Linked DNA regions of Homo sapiens: all the other regions are linked to region 2. The links are contacts of gene promoters, found by promoter capture Hi-C in human tissues and cell types (Jung and others, 2019). All regions are on one chromosome and are shown on one strand. The core of a region is centred on a gene start or on the middle of the fragment in contact, and the rest is flanking DNA. Distances in the headings are between cores, read along the strand shown.

Region 1 (4,570 bases), core at 767-3,266, 450 kb after region 2:
GTGGGGTGTGTCCAGCAAGCCTGGTGGAGTGATTGATTTTTTCAGCAATATTTAGAAGTTCCAATACAGACAAAGACCAGGCAGACAGTGGGAGATAGGATTTGCCAAGCAGGTGACAGAGAACGGAAACAGCAAAAGTGAATGTTTTTTGCAAAGGAGCAATGTTAGTGTTAGACTGAGTCAGGAGGGAAGGACGACGAGAGGAAACGGGCCGGGAGAGCCAACGGAGCTGGAGGTAGGTGCATGGCCAGTGGTCTCCACGTGACCTGGGGGTTGCTAGGGTGAGTCCAGGAGAGATCAAGACTGAACAGGTGGAGACCAGAGTATGGGGAGAGGGGGAGCGACAGTTCAGATGTGGTGTGGCTTCTTCATTCAGAGACTCGGCCTGCTGCCACATTAGCTGCTGGTGCCCTGCTGAGCGTGGCCAGGTGCCCTGACCCATGGCTGGTGACGTCAAACTGTGGCTTCCTTGGCCTCCCAGAGATCTCGTCTCTCTTATGTTTGGAAAGGGTGTAAACTCCGTTTACACACACCCTTTTGACTTCTCAACAAGACCAGAAGCACTTCCCACTGGCTCCTTCTCCATGTCTAAGCCTGAAGTCTGTGGCCTAGACGACTTGGGGAAGGAGGCAGGCAGAAGAGGAGGAAGTTGGCAGTGACCAGAGCAGACAGGCCTGTGGTAACCAGACCCTATCTGATGGGAGCTGCTCAGCAGATTGAAGGTTTCAGACAGGGCTGTTTTTAAGTACCCCGTTCACAGGCTCAAAGCAAACAGCAAGGGAGACAGCTAGGCGGTCTCCAAAGGAAATTGATTAAGGAAGAGAAACCTCAGATGCGTTGGAACATTTATCATTTCTTTGAGGATACATGCTTGACGTGATGGATATTAATTACCCTGATTTGATCACTAGACACGGAATGCACAGAAACATCACTATATACCCCATAAATATGTACAATTATTATACATCAATTTTTTAAAAATTAAAAGGGAAAAAAGGTGTTTTAGCTAGGCATGGTGGCTCATGCCTGTAATCCCAGAACTTTGGGAGGCTGACATGGAAGGATTGCTTGAGCCCAGCAGTTCAAGACCAGCCTGGGTAACACAGAGAGACCTCATCTCTTTTTGTTTGTTTTTTTGAGACAGAGTCTGGCTCTGTTGCCCAGGCTGGAGTGCAGTGGTAGGATCTCAGCTCACTGCAACCTCTGCCTCATGGGTTCAAGCAATCCTCCTGCGTCAGCCTCCTGAGTAGCTGGGACTACAGGTGTGCACTGCCACAGCTGGCTAATTTTTGTATTTTTGTAGGGATGGAGTTTCACCATGTTGGCCAGCTTGGTCTGAAACTCTTGACCTCAAGTGATCTGCCTGCCTCGGCCTCCCAAAGTGCTGGGATTACAGGAATGAGCCACCATGCCCCACCCTTGTCTATTTTTTATTTTTTAATCATAAAAAAATGAAGGTGTTTGCAGGCTGTAAGAATCCGTCATCCACCACTCGCTGCCAGGAACATTCCCGCCTGCAAGATGGTTACGAGGAAAGTGAGGCTTGGTGCAGCTTTGCAGGACAGTAGGGTATTTCCTGAGCCATTTGTTAAACAGAAAGCCCTGCACTGCTCATTCTCTTACTCCCTTCTCCATGCAAAGACTACTGAAGCTAAGGGGCATTTGCTAAAGAACAGCCAGAGTCCCAAGGGAAACCTGAGTTAGAGATGACAAGCCACACTCCTTGGCTCGCTCCCGGAGACTCACCCACCCAGGTGGTCCTGGCCTAGGCCTGGAGGGAGGGCTTTCAGGGAGCTCACCTCTGCTCCCCCACCCACTGCACTCTCGGCCTCATCTGGGAGGGGTACCTGGGCCTGGAGCAGGACAAATGCGTCTCCAACCTGTCGCCTCTGCACCAGTCTGGGTTTGGTCAATAAAGTGGAAGCCCCCTCAGTCTTCCATGAAGGAAAGGACCTGATTCAGGAACTAAGGGTTCACAGAACCCTTAGAAGGGCGGGGACAGGCAGTGTCCGGGAAGAGGCTGTGAGAAGAGGTGACTCACAGAGCTCATCCCCAAAGTCGCCCGGATTTCACCCAGCTCAGCAGGGGGCCTTTTTTGCACCGCTGTAGCTGGAACGGCTATGGAAAGCTGGTGATTCTCAAGAGGTCTGTCCACACCTCTGCCTGCTGCCACCACCGGGAATAAAGCTTCACTTGCTATTGTGCACTGAATTATGACCCCCAAAAATTCACATGTTGAAATCCTGATCTCCAGCATCTAAGAATGGGACTATGTAAGAGGTAACTAGAGTAAAATGAGGTCATATGGGTGGGTCATAATCCAATCTGACTGACGTCTGCATAAGAAGAGGAGATTAAGACACAGACACTCACAGAGGGACGGCCACATGGAGACACAGGGAGAAGACACCACCTACAAGCTGAGGAGAGAGGCCTGAGAAGGAACCAACCCTGCCAGTACTTTGATCTTGGACCTCCAGCCTCTAGGACTGTGAGAAAACAAATGTCTGTTATTTAAGCCACGCAGTCTATGGTATCTTGTTATGGCAGTCACACCCAACGGGGATATTTGTTTTTCCTCTTTGACCCCTCTTCCTCTCCTCTCTACCCCACCCCCAGCTTTTAAAGCCCCCACCTGGAAGTGACTCATATCATTTCTGCTCACATTTCCTTGGTCTAAACAAGTCAGATGGCCAAACCTGACATCCAAAGTGTGGAGAAGTACCAGCTTAGCCTGGGCCCCCAAGTAGAGGAGAACTGCACTATTTGCAGATGGGATCTTAGTGATTACCTCTCATTCTTCCTCACCCCATCCAGAGTGGACCTGCAAAACCCCATCAGCCTGCAGCCCTAAGGACACCCTGACCAGCAGACTCTGACTTGCAGTGTAGACACGGGGCAGTACCAAGATGATGCAGCATGGAGTGAAAGGAAGAGAAGAGGCCAGGTGCAGTGGCTCCCGCCTGTAATCCCAGCAATTTGGGAGGCCGAGGTGGGAGGATCACTTGAGCCCAGGAGTTCTAGACCAGCCTGGGCAACATGGTGAGACCCTATCTCTACAAAAAGTAGAAAAAATAGCTACCCACATGCCCAGCTACTCAGGAGGCTGAGATGAGAGGATCACCTGAACCTGGGGAGGTCGAGGCTGCAGTGAGCCACGATCACGCCACTGCACTTCAGCCTGGGCCACAGAATGAAACCTTGTCACATGCACGCAAAAAGACGAGAACTTCTATTAATGTTTTAAACCTCTTCTTTTCTGCTTTCAATGTGCTCTAAATATGTATAATATATGGGTACAGACATGTATATTATATAAATCTGTTGGGGAATGCACAAACATTTTCACAGATGGAGGGCAAGTCAGACAAGAGTGAGGCCCGGCCTTTGCCTGCGCCACATTGGATTCACCCCATATCCAAGCCTCAGGCTGTGCCAAACTGGATGAGGGACGATGCTTCCTCATGCGAGGTGGCACGGGCACAGCCTCTGCCCAGTGTCCTACTGCCCCTGTGTGGCCACATATGGCGTCTGCACACACCTGAGTCGCTGGGTAAAAGGCACCATATTTCTGCCAATCTGCTCTGGGCTCTGTTCCCCTTGACAGACCTGTCACAGGACAAACCCCTAAACCGGGTTCAGCCTGGGAGGCCACATGGGTTCTTGGCTTTGCACAGGAAGAAATTCAAGAGTGAGCCGACAGAGTCAAGTGAAAGCAAATGTATTAGGAAAGGAAAGGAATAAAAGAGTGGCTACTCCATAGGCAGAGCAGCCCGGGACTGCTGGTTGGCTATTTCTTTATTGATCATATGCTGAAGAAGGAGTGGATCATTCATGAGTTTTCGAGGAGAGGGGCAGGGAATTCTCGTAACTGAGGGTTCCTCCCCCTTTCAGGCCATATAGGGTAGCTTCCAGGCATTGCCACAGCACTTGTGAACTGTCATGGCGCTGGTGGGAGTGTCCTTTTAGCAGCTAATGCATTATAATTAGCGTATAATGAGCAGTGAGGACGACCAGAGGTTGCCTTTGTTCCCATCTTGGTTTTGCTAGATTTTGATCGGCTTCTTGACCACATCTCATTTTATCAGCAGGGTCTTTGTGATCTGTACCCTGCAAAACAAGCCCTCCCCAACTCCTATCTCAAACCCACAATGAAGCCCATGTCAGAAGCACCAGGGGTAGAAAACAGAAGGTGGGGAGAGAGAGGGGGAGGAAGAGAGGAAGCAAGAGAGAGAGGAAGGGAGAGAGAGAAATGGGGAGAAGGCCAAGAAAGAGAGAAGGTGCAAGAAACAGTGAAACGCAGGAGGTTATTTTTAAGATGGGATATGGTCACCAAATGCAAGCACATGAACCAGCCTTCCTTTCCTGCACTGCCCCCATCTCCCCTTTTCAGAATGTTCTGGTCAAGTCTAAGAACAGGGCCTAGAAATCACAGCTTCTGAGTTTGAGGCTCAGGGGCAGGAGCAGATGCAAGACCCAGCAGCCCTGCAGAAGGCCCCAGTCCCTGACGCCCCATTCCACCACCCAGAGTGGCCTGCCATCACCCATTGTCCATGTGAGCCCAGAG
Region 2 (4,520 bases), core at 2,021-4,520:
GATGGACATTTGAGTTGTTTTCACCTTTTGGTTACTGTAAATAATGCTGCTATAAACATCTGGTGTAAGTTTATACATACGTTATTAACTTTTGTTTTAGAGTTGGGGTCTCACTATGTTCCCCAGGCTGGTCTTGAACTCCTAGGCTTAAGTAATCCACCCACCTCTGCCTCCCAAAGTGCTGGGATTACAGGCGTGAGCCCACTGTGCCCGGCGGATTTTTGTGAGGACGTATGTTTTCACCTCTTTCAGGTGTTAACTTAGGCCTCTTTTACGGATGTTCAACAAGCAAACAGCTTTTACACACGTGAGTCAAGGCCTCTCTGTAAGTTCTGAGAGCTGTTCCCCAGGCCCTGAACCCTGACCCCCAAATCTAGCAGGTTAAGCCAAAATTCTCCTCAACTTCAAGGCCTACTTCATTCATTATGCATCCACTCAACTCACATTTCTCTATCCTCTGCTATGGGCCAGACACCCTGCAATGAGCTGGGATGAAGCAGGGGAACACCGCAGGTAAAAATGCTTGCCTGGGTGGGGCTTAAGATCCAGTGAGGGCAGGAAGGAACATATACAAGTAAATATGCTGTATGTTCCTTTCTCCATGAAGCTTTCCTGGATGTTCCAGGAAGGGACGAATTCTACTCTGGTAGTAATATATTTCTTTTCTTGTCTTTTGAGGAGTCTTGCCCATGTTGGAGTGCAATGGCGTGATCTCGGCTCACTACAACCTCTGACTCCCTGGTTCAAGGGATCCTCCTGCCTCAGCGCTCGAGTAGCTGGGATTACAGGCCCGCAATGCCACACCCAGCTAATTTTTGTATTTTTAGTAGAGACGGGGTTTCACCATGTTGGCCAGGCTGGTCTTGAACTTCCAACGTCGTGATCCGCCTGCCTTGGCCTCCCAAAGTGCTGGGATTACAGGCGTGAGCCACTGCGCCTGGCCTATTTCTTTTTTTCTTTTCTTTTCTTTTGAGATGGAATCTTGCCCGGGTTGGAGTGCAATGGCGTGATTTTGGCTCACCGCAACCTCCACCTCCCGGGCTCAAGCGATTCTCCTGCCTCAGCCTCTCAAGTAGCTGGGATTACAGGCGCGTGAACCACCACGCCCAGCTAATTTTTGTATTTTTAGTAGAGACTGGGTTTCACCATTTGGGCCAGGCTGGTCTGGAACTCCCGACCTCAGGTGATCTGCCTGCCTCAGCCTCCCAAAGTGCTAGGATTACAGTGGTGAACCACCGCGCCTAGCCTGTTTCTTTTGTTTCAAAAGTGATTTTTACCTCTCAAAAGTGATTTCTATAATGACACTGATGGAAAATTCCATCAAATAGCCATAACGCATGTCAAGCACTCTGCTCTGCATACCTTCTGTCACACTCTAAGGATGAGAGAGGGGAGAGTTATCCTGGTTCTGGCTGTGTCCTCCCCATTTTGGCCATCTTATGAGCTCCTTATAGAGGTCTGAAATGATTTGGAGTCCAGAGTCCATGGCTGTCAGGATATGACTAGGGTGAGCAGGCAGTTGGGACCACCTTGACCTCCAGCCTCCTGGTCCTCAGTTCCTCGGGTATCCCACTCTGCTGGGGGCTTAGTGACCATGTTTGGGCTCCAGAGATTATTTTTTCCTTCCACTCCTATCCTTAGTTTGTTACTAACCAGGCGGGAGTACAGGCATGTCTCTGAAGACAGGCTCAGGGCTGTGTGACAGCTGACGACCAGGCTGCAGGGAACCAGGTCCCATGCAGTCCTACTGCCTTTTTTTTTTTTTTTTTTTTTTTTTTTGAGGCGGAGTCTCGCTTTTCGCCCAGGCTGGAGTGCAGTGGCACGATCTCAGCTCACGGGTTCACGCCATTCTCCTGCCTCCGCCTCCCGAGTAGCTGGGACTACAGGCGCCCGCCACCACGCCCGGCTAATTTTTTGTATTTTTACTAGAGACGGGGTTTCACCGTGTTAGCCAGGATAATCTTGATCTCCTGACCTCGTGATCCGCCCGCCTCGGCCTCCCAAAGTGCTGGGATTACAGGCGTGAGCCACTGCACCCGGCTACTGCCTTCTTACTGTCGCCACAGCCTGGATAAAATACGATTCTTCTGAGCCTTTTTTTTTTTTTTAATACAGAGTTTCACTCTTGTTGCCTAGGCTGGAGTGCAATAGTGCGATCTCTGGTCACCGCAACCTCCGCCTCCCGGGTTCAAGCGATTCTCCTGCTTCAGTCTCCCGAGTAGCTGGGATTACTGACACGCGCCACCACGCCCGGCTAGTTTTGTATTTTTAGTAGAGACGGGGTTTCTCCATGTTGGTCAGGATGGTCTCGAACTCCCGACCTCAGGTGACTCACCGGCCTCGGCCTCCCAAAATGCTGGGATTACAGGCGTGAGCCACCGAACCCAGCCCCTCTGAGCCTCTTGAATACAACTGGGGTCATGCCTGCTTTGCAGGTTTGTCTTAAGGATTAAAGCTGTTTGGGGAGTGTCTGGAGGAGGGTGAGTCTTGAGCCAACCCCTGCATCTCCCTTCCAGGGCCTCCCGGTAATAAACCCCAAGTAAATGTGCACTTTGTCCGTCCTCTCGGAGCAGGTCTCCGGGTACTCCTGTGCCAAACCGATTTCCGCCCCCAAGGTCCTTCTCCTCTTAGAAATCCTGACGCAGCTCCTAGGTTCCTTCGCAGTGACAGCCACTCTTTTCTATTTGTACGTAGCTGTAGTGTTTTGTGGGTACGTTCTCTGAACAACAAAGTGGCCCTTCTAAAGGCTGTTCTGTGGGGTCCACAGCCTCGCCACCCCCAGCCTCTGCAGCGGCTTCTGAATGAATGAAATAAGCGACGGCGCCCTCTCCACCACCCCACCCCCGCCAACTCGGCAGGCAGGGATCCCAGGCGCGGGTTCTGGCGGAGGCGGTCCCGCGAGGCGGGGGGACTTTTCTAGGCGGGGTGGGGGCCTTGGGACCACCTTTAGGGGCTTTTTCCCCATCCCCTGGCCCCAATTCGCAGCGTTTCGCCACCCAGGGCCCGCAGGGCTCCAAGCCCTTCTTCCCCAGCCCGCGCGCTCAGGCCCCCGCCCGCCCCCGGCGGTGGCCCCGGACCCCGAGCGGAAGGGGGCGGGGGGTGTGCGGGGCCGGGAAGCGGGGAGCGCGGGCGGCGGAAGGTGGCGGGAGGGGGTGGGGGCTGGGAAGCACCGTGCGCGGGCGGCGGGAGGGCCCGGGCGGGGCTGCGCGGTGGTCACGTGGGGCGGGGCCGGGAGGGTACTTAGGGCCGGGGCTGGCCCAGGCTACGGCGGCTGCAGGGCTCCGGCAACCGCTCCGGCAACGCCAACCGCTCCGCTGCGCGCAGGCTGGGCTGCAGGCTCTCGGCTGCAGCGCTGGGTGAGTGCTGGGGACCCGGGGCCACCGCAGCGTAAGTGACCTTGGCGGGGACGGTGCTACCCGGCCGCCGAGACGGGTTCCTCTGCGCCCTCAGTCGGGCCCAGGCGCGGCCCCGCGGCGTCCCTGGGGGCCGGCGGGGAGCCGGGACCCTCGGGACTGTCCCTGACGGGCGGGCTGGGGTGGGAGTCCGCGCGCTCCGAAGCGTCGGCGAGAAAAGCAGAAAACAGCTCCGCCCGCCAGCCCTCTGCCCTCCGCTCCCCTCCCCGGGCTGTGCGCCGGACCCCGGCCCTCGGAGCGGGGACGCGGCCAGGACCGCCGAGGGAGGCGCCTGCGAGGAAGAGCTCGGCCGGGTCCGGAGACTGCTGCCTGGGACCGCGCTCCCAGCGCCTGGGCCTCGGTGTCTCCGGGCCAAACTGCCGACATAATCGCATCTGCCGGCATCTATTTTCGGTTTATTTCCCCCTCATTGCGAAGGATTTGCCTGGCCAACTTTCTGCGCAAGATCCCACGCAATTCCTGGGACCCCAGAAGACAGGTCCTGTTGAAGAACAGGAATCTGGCACTGGGTGGGCTGGGGAGGAAGCCGCACGGTGTTAAATCCATAAACAGGAAGAGAAACCAGACAGCGAAACCAAGAGGCGAATGGGCGATTGGATGCCGGTGGGGAGAAGGCCGGGGGCGCACCCTGCTCCTGGACTCCAGTAAAGGGAGGCCGGGCAGAGTCCCTGGGGCGCCACCTCCCCCTCGGTTAGTAGCCCTGGAGGCCGGGGGGAGTTGGCCTCTGGGGAGCAGTGGGTGCTGGGTGTGGGGCGTTGCAGGCAGGCTGGGGTGGGCGACCCAGGTGGAAGTGAATTGCACTTGGCTTCCTGGTGGGCCTCTGTCACCCCCTTCCCAGGCGCTGAGAAAGCCAGCAGGCTGGCAAAGAAAAGGACCCTAGCGCAGGCCCCACACTCCTCCTCCTAACGGACGAGAGACCCCCCAAACCCACTGGAGAAGTGACGCTGTGGGGTTCAAATGCAGACCTGGCACCTTTTTGTAGCCTGGAAAAACATTCCCACTGCCTGCTGCCGGAGGAGAGGATAGCTGAGATGCACTCTCTTTGAATCCAAACGTTCAGGAACGTAAGGCGAAGAGGCCTAAGAGGGCGTTGGCTGGCTCTGTCTC
Region 3 (4,456 bases), core at 1,393-3,892, 420 kb after region 2:
CCCACACTCACATTCACACACAGCAAGGCAACCACCCCCAACACTCACACCCAGCAGAGCAACCACCCTGCACACTCACACTCAGGTGAGGCAACCATCCCACACTCAAACTCAAAGCAAGGCAACCACCCCCCACACTCAGACTCACACACCCAGCAGGGCAACCACCCCACACACTCACACTCACACACCCATCAGGGCAACCACTCCCCACACTCACACATACCCAGCAGAGCAGCCACCCCCCACACTCACACACACCCAGCAGAGCAGCCACCCCCCACACTCACAATCACACTCACGCAAGGCAACCATCCCACACTCACACTCCTCACACTCATACACAGCAAGGCAACCACCCCCCACACTCACACACACCCAGGAGGGTAACCACCCCCCCCAGACACACACAGAGCAAGGCAACCACCACCCACACTCACACAGCAAGGCAACAACCCCACCACAGTCACACACACACACAGAGCAAGGCAACCACCACCCACACTCAGCAAGGCAACAACCCCACCACAGTCACACACACACACACGCACACACACATATCCCAGCAACCCATCCCTGCCACGTGCAGCACTGGGGCCGGGGTCAGGTCTCGGCAGGATGTCATCTCCATGTCAGGGCTCCTGACACCGGCTCTGACCAAGGCTTGGAATGCAGATGAGGCTGGAAAGGCAAGAGATGAGCGCCAGGGCTAGACAGCAGGGTCCCTCCTGCTCAGTTGCCATGGCAACCCCGGAGGAGGAGGGGACCACTAGGGCAGCCTGGCTCCCGGCAGCAGCTCTGTGGGGCCCAGGGCTGTGTCCCTGTCCTCTCGGCTGCCACCTGGTCAGTGCTGAGCCCAGCCAGAGGCCAGCCCAGTCCTGTCTGGTCCTCTGGGTGAGATAAGTGTTGGGTTTCTGATTAAACCCGGGCAGAAAAGCCTGCACACCCCAGGCTCGCCTCCCTAGGCCGACTGTGGAGCCATGTCCCAGACCTCCTAACCTCTTACTCACCCAGAACAAAGGGATTTGCCTTTTCAGAAAACAAAAGGAAAAGATGCAGGCATGAGCTTTGCCCTGCACCACCCTGAATTTTCTGTGTATGAAACCCCTTAGAGCCTCTGCACTCCCTTGGCTGTGGGGCTGGCCTCACTGTTCTCTGGCCTCTGAAGCCACCGCAGGTCCCAGCTCATGGCCCCTGCCTTTGTCTCCGGTTGAAATCAGGGCTGTGCCCTCTACTGATGGGCCTGGCCTGGCTGAAACCGCAACATCAGGGCAAGGTAGAGTGGAGATGCCTCTTCCTGCCACCCCTGCACCAGACAGGTGTTGACGGAGGAATCAGGAGATGCTGTCCTTGAGTGAAGCCACGAGTCTCTCTGATGTGGAGTTTTAGGCTTGGTGACACACACAGCAGGCTCAGCAGAGGAAACAGAGCGCTTTGCACACACACGTGGGCCTCCGCTCTCCAGCCAAGCCCACCCTGGCTTTGGCAGCAGAGCCATGGGCAACCCAGACGGTGTCGGGGTCAAGAAGGTGAGGCCGGCACTAAAGACATCCCATCCCCCAAGACCTGCCCTGCTGAGGATCCTGCAGGGCCCTAAGTCACAGTGTAGCTAATTCTTCCTTCCAGAAATTTCTGGGAGAACCCAGTTATACCTGCAGATGGAAAGCTTTCCACACGCGTGATAGCTAGTCCTGCCAGATAGTAGGTTCTAGAAGATGGCACAGCAACCCCAAGGAGTGTGGGCAGTAGGCTCTGGGCTGTCACTGAGGAGCCCCGGGCCTTAGGCTGGTCACATAGGCTGCCACCTCGGTTTGCTGCATGATGGGGTAAGAAGACCCAGCCTTCCCTGCAGTGTTTATGTGCTGCGGTGTAGACGTGCTCCATAAACTCAGTGAAGGTGGTTCTGCTGTGGAGTGGCCAGCGTCATAGGACAGCACAGAACCAAGACAGAGCTGGCTATCTCGGGGGGCAACTTGATTCCCAGAGGACACTCTTGCTTTGTTCTGTTTGAGTAGACCATGGGGAGGGTCACAGAGCCTCTGACCCGGTCCTGGTCCCCAGCTCAGCCTTCCTGGCTCCTGCTGCAGCCCTCCCCTCCACCTCCACAGGGAGCTGTGCATCTGCTGGTTTCAGTCCTTGCCCTGCCAGGTACAGTCTGAGTGCCACTGGGCCCGTGCCTTATCATCTCTGTGCCTCGGTCTCTTCATCTGTGTAATGGGACAATCATAGTGCATACTTCACAAGATTCTCATGCAAATAAGTGAGGTGCTATCTCCTTATAGTGCCTGGCACATATTGAGTGCTTCATACATATTAGCAGCTTGACAGTGTTACTAAAATGTTATTTAGAGTCAGGCATGGTGGCACATGCCTGCAGTTCCAGCTACTTGGGAGGCTGAGGCAGGAGATCAGTTGACCCCAGGAGTCTGAGGCTGCAGTGAGCTGTGATTGTACCACTTGCGCTCCAGCCTGGGCAACAGTGAGACCTCATCTCAATAACAAAGTTACTTAGTAGGAAAGTTATTAAGGGGCAGGATTCGAGTTGCATTTTAGAAGGATAACCGGCAGCAGGACAGAGGAGAGGAAGCCTGGAGGAGGGAGCTTTGTGGAGAAGGGGACAGCGTCCAAGTCCCCAGGCTCAGGCTGAGGGGTCAGGAGTGCAGGGGAATGGGGGCAGCCGTGATGAAGGGGACAGAGGGGGGAGATCACCCCAGCTTTCCTGCAGCAGATCTGTGTTCTGGGAACCAGCCAGCCTCTGTGGCCTCCACTTTCTCCTGCGTGAAGTCAGAAGGACGTGAGGCCCGAATGTGTGTGCTGATGCTCGGTGAACTCTGAGGAGACCTACCATTGCTCAGCCCGTGCTGGCACTGGGGAACGTGCCTGCACATTCCCCCAGCATTCATAGATGCTAAATAAAGCACCCTTTTTTCTGGGCCAGGATCTCAGGCCGTCACGTCTGTTTATGGGAGCTTGGGCTTCGGTTTCATGAGAAAAGTTATCTGTTTCCTCACCTGTAAAATGGGGATTTGAATAGGGTTAGTGCACCTCTTTCAGGCTGCAGAAACAGACCCGAGGCAACCTCGTGGGGTGGAGGCTGATGATGAGAAGGGAGGGAGCTGCAGGTGGAGGAAGCAGCAGCCTGTGGGAGACAGATGCAGCCACAGGCTCACTCCTTCATGCTCTTTCTGCCTCTGCTCACCCCCTCTCCCTCTGGGGACTGTCACAGTCCTGAAACAGCCCAGAGGCACCACTCCCAAAAGAGCACAGCTCACCAGACTTCTCGGCCCTTCAGTTGTTTGCCCTGATGTCCGGCTGTAGCCCAGCTGGGCTGGTCTCATGACCCAGCATGTATCCATTTTGCACAGGGAACCATGGGCGGCGTTTCTGCCAGAGGAGCAGAGCAAGGATAAATTCACTCATATGCGAAATTGTCATTCTGTCCTCATCAAGCATAGCCTGTCATGGATTGTGAGTTAGGAGACAAGTCAACTCTGCATGTGGACAGACTCAGTAAGATTTCATTAGGAGGACAGTGACCATCCACCCTGTGGTTCTCAATGGGAGGTCGCACAGCACCCCCTCCCTGCCCCCCACCACCAAGGGACACGTGGAATGGTGGCAGAGGGAGCCTTTTGGATTGTCATGACATTTTATGACACTGGTTTGCTCTCAGTTGTATATTTTCCTCACCAAATGAGTTGTGCTTCCTGTCTCATTTCAGTTACAGCTCTTGGTTGTGAGCAAGAGAAAATGACATTATTGTAAGGCTGTCAGGTGCCCACAGAATTGGCAGGAGGTAAAGACCAGAAAACAGGCAGAACCAGGGCAGATCCAGAAGGCAGAGGCAGGAGATCCCGGGCCAGTCCTTCAGCAGAGACAATTTGGCTAAGAGGATGCCACCGCCCCTGCACTTCACATTTGCCTCCAGGGTTGGTTCACAGATGCGCCCTAACCATCCCTTCCTCTGAGACTCACACGCACCCAATTCAGAGTCGGGGCCTGAACAGCTGACTGGCCAAGCTCAGGTCACATGCTCACACCTGGTCACCAGGGCATGAGCTGGGAAGAGGAGCACGTGGTCCTCTGGTTGCAGAGAAGGCTGCACGGCCTGCCTGCTGTTCTGCACAAAATGGGGAGCTCCCTCCACACAGGAAAGGAGAGGGTGTTGGATATGGCAAACAGACACACAGTCCAACGAAAGACAAATAGCAGCAAGCATCCACTGTGCTCTTTAATATTCCTTCTCCAGTGCGTGCTGTGTCAGTCACTTACGAATGTCAGAAACCCCATCTCCAAGTAGCTGAAGCAAAAAAGGCGGAAGGTATACGCTGTGTAACCTGGGCAGGGCGGGTGGCTTCCCACGGGGCCCAGCTGCGGGCCCCCAGCTCCTTGCCACTGGGCTGTGATGGCCAAGCTGCCACACTGTCGGCTTGGCTTTGCTCTCCAGTTAGACCCT

Evidence for each region. Contacts are between HindIII fragments. The study calls those that stand out against the background at their distance.
Region 1: a fragment that was not itself captured here is called in contact with the fragment with the promoter of CTSB in region 2 in 2 of the 25 tissues and cell types used here (lymphoblastoid cells and thymus).
Region 3: a contact is called between a fragment that was not itself captured here and the fragment with the promoter of CTSB in region 2, in 1 of the 25 tissues and cell types used here (aorta).

Annotation. Positions count from the first base shown.
Region 1 is chr8:11,412,822-11,417,391 of GRCh38, reverse strand. All of the region lies in intron 3 of FAM167A-AS1 (FAM167A antisense RNA 1), which reads right to left. Among named protein-coding and RNA genes, the nearest start is that of FAM167A-AS1, 47 kb to the right of the region's middle. RefSeq lists enhancers at 1-400, 324-553, 401-902. The HindIII fragment of the contact is 4,838 bases long and covers 1-4,435 here.
Region 2 is chr8:11,866,837-11,871,356 of GRCh38, reverse strand. It overlaps CTSB (cathepsin B), which reads left to right and starts at 3,270. Exons shown (of 10, transcript NM_001908.5): 1 at 3,270-3,356. RefSeq lists silencers at 3,117-3,236, 3,377-3,706 and an enhancer at 3,797-4,006. The HindIII fragment of the contact is 10,819 bases long and covers 1-4,520 here.
Region 3 is chr8:11,451,231-11,455,686 of GRCh38, reverse strand. All of the region lies in intron 1 of FAM167A (family with sequence similarity 167 member A), which reads left to right. Among named protein-coding and RNA genes, the nearest start is that of FAM167A, 13 kb to the left of the region's middle. RefSeq lists enhancers at 2,252-2,827, 2,828-3,403, 3,422-3,471, 3,404-3,979. The HindIII fragment of the contact is 6,640 bases long and covers 1-4,456 here.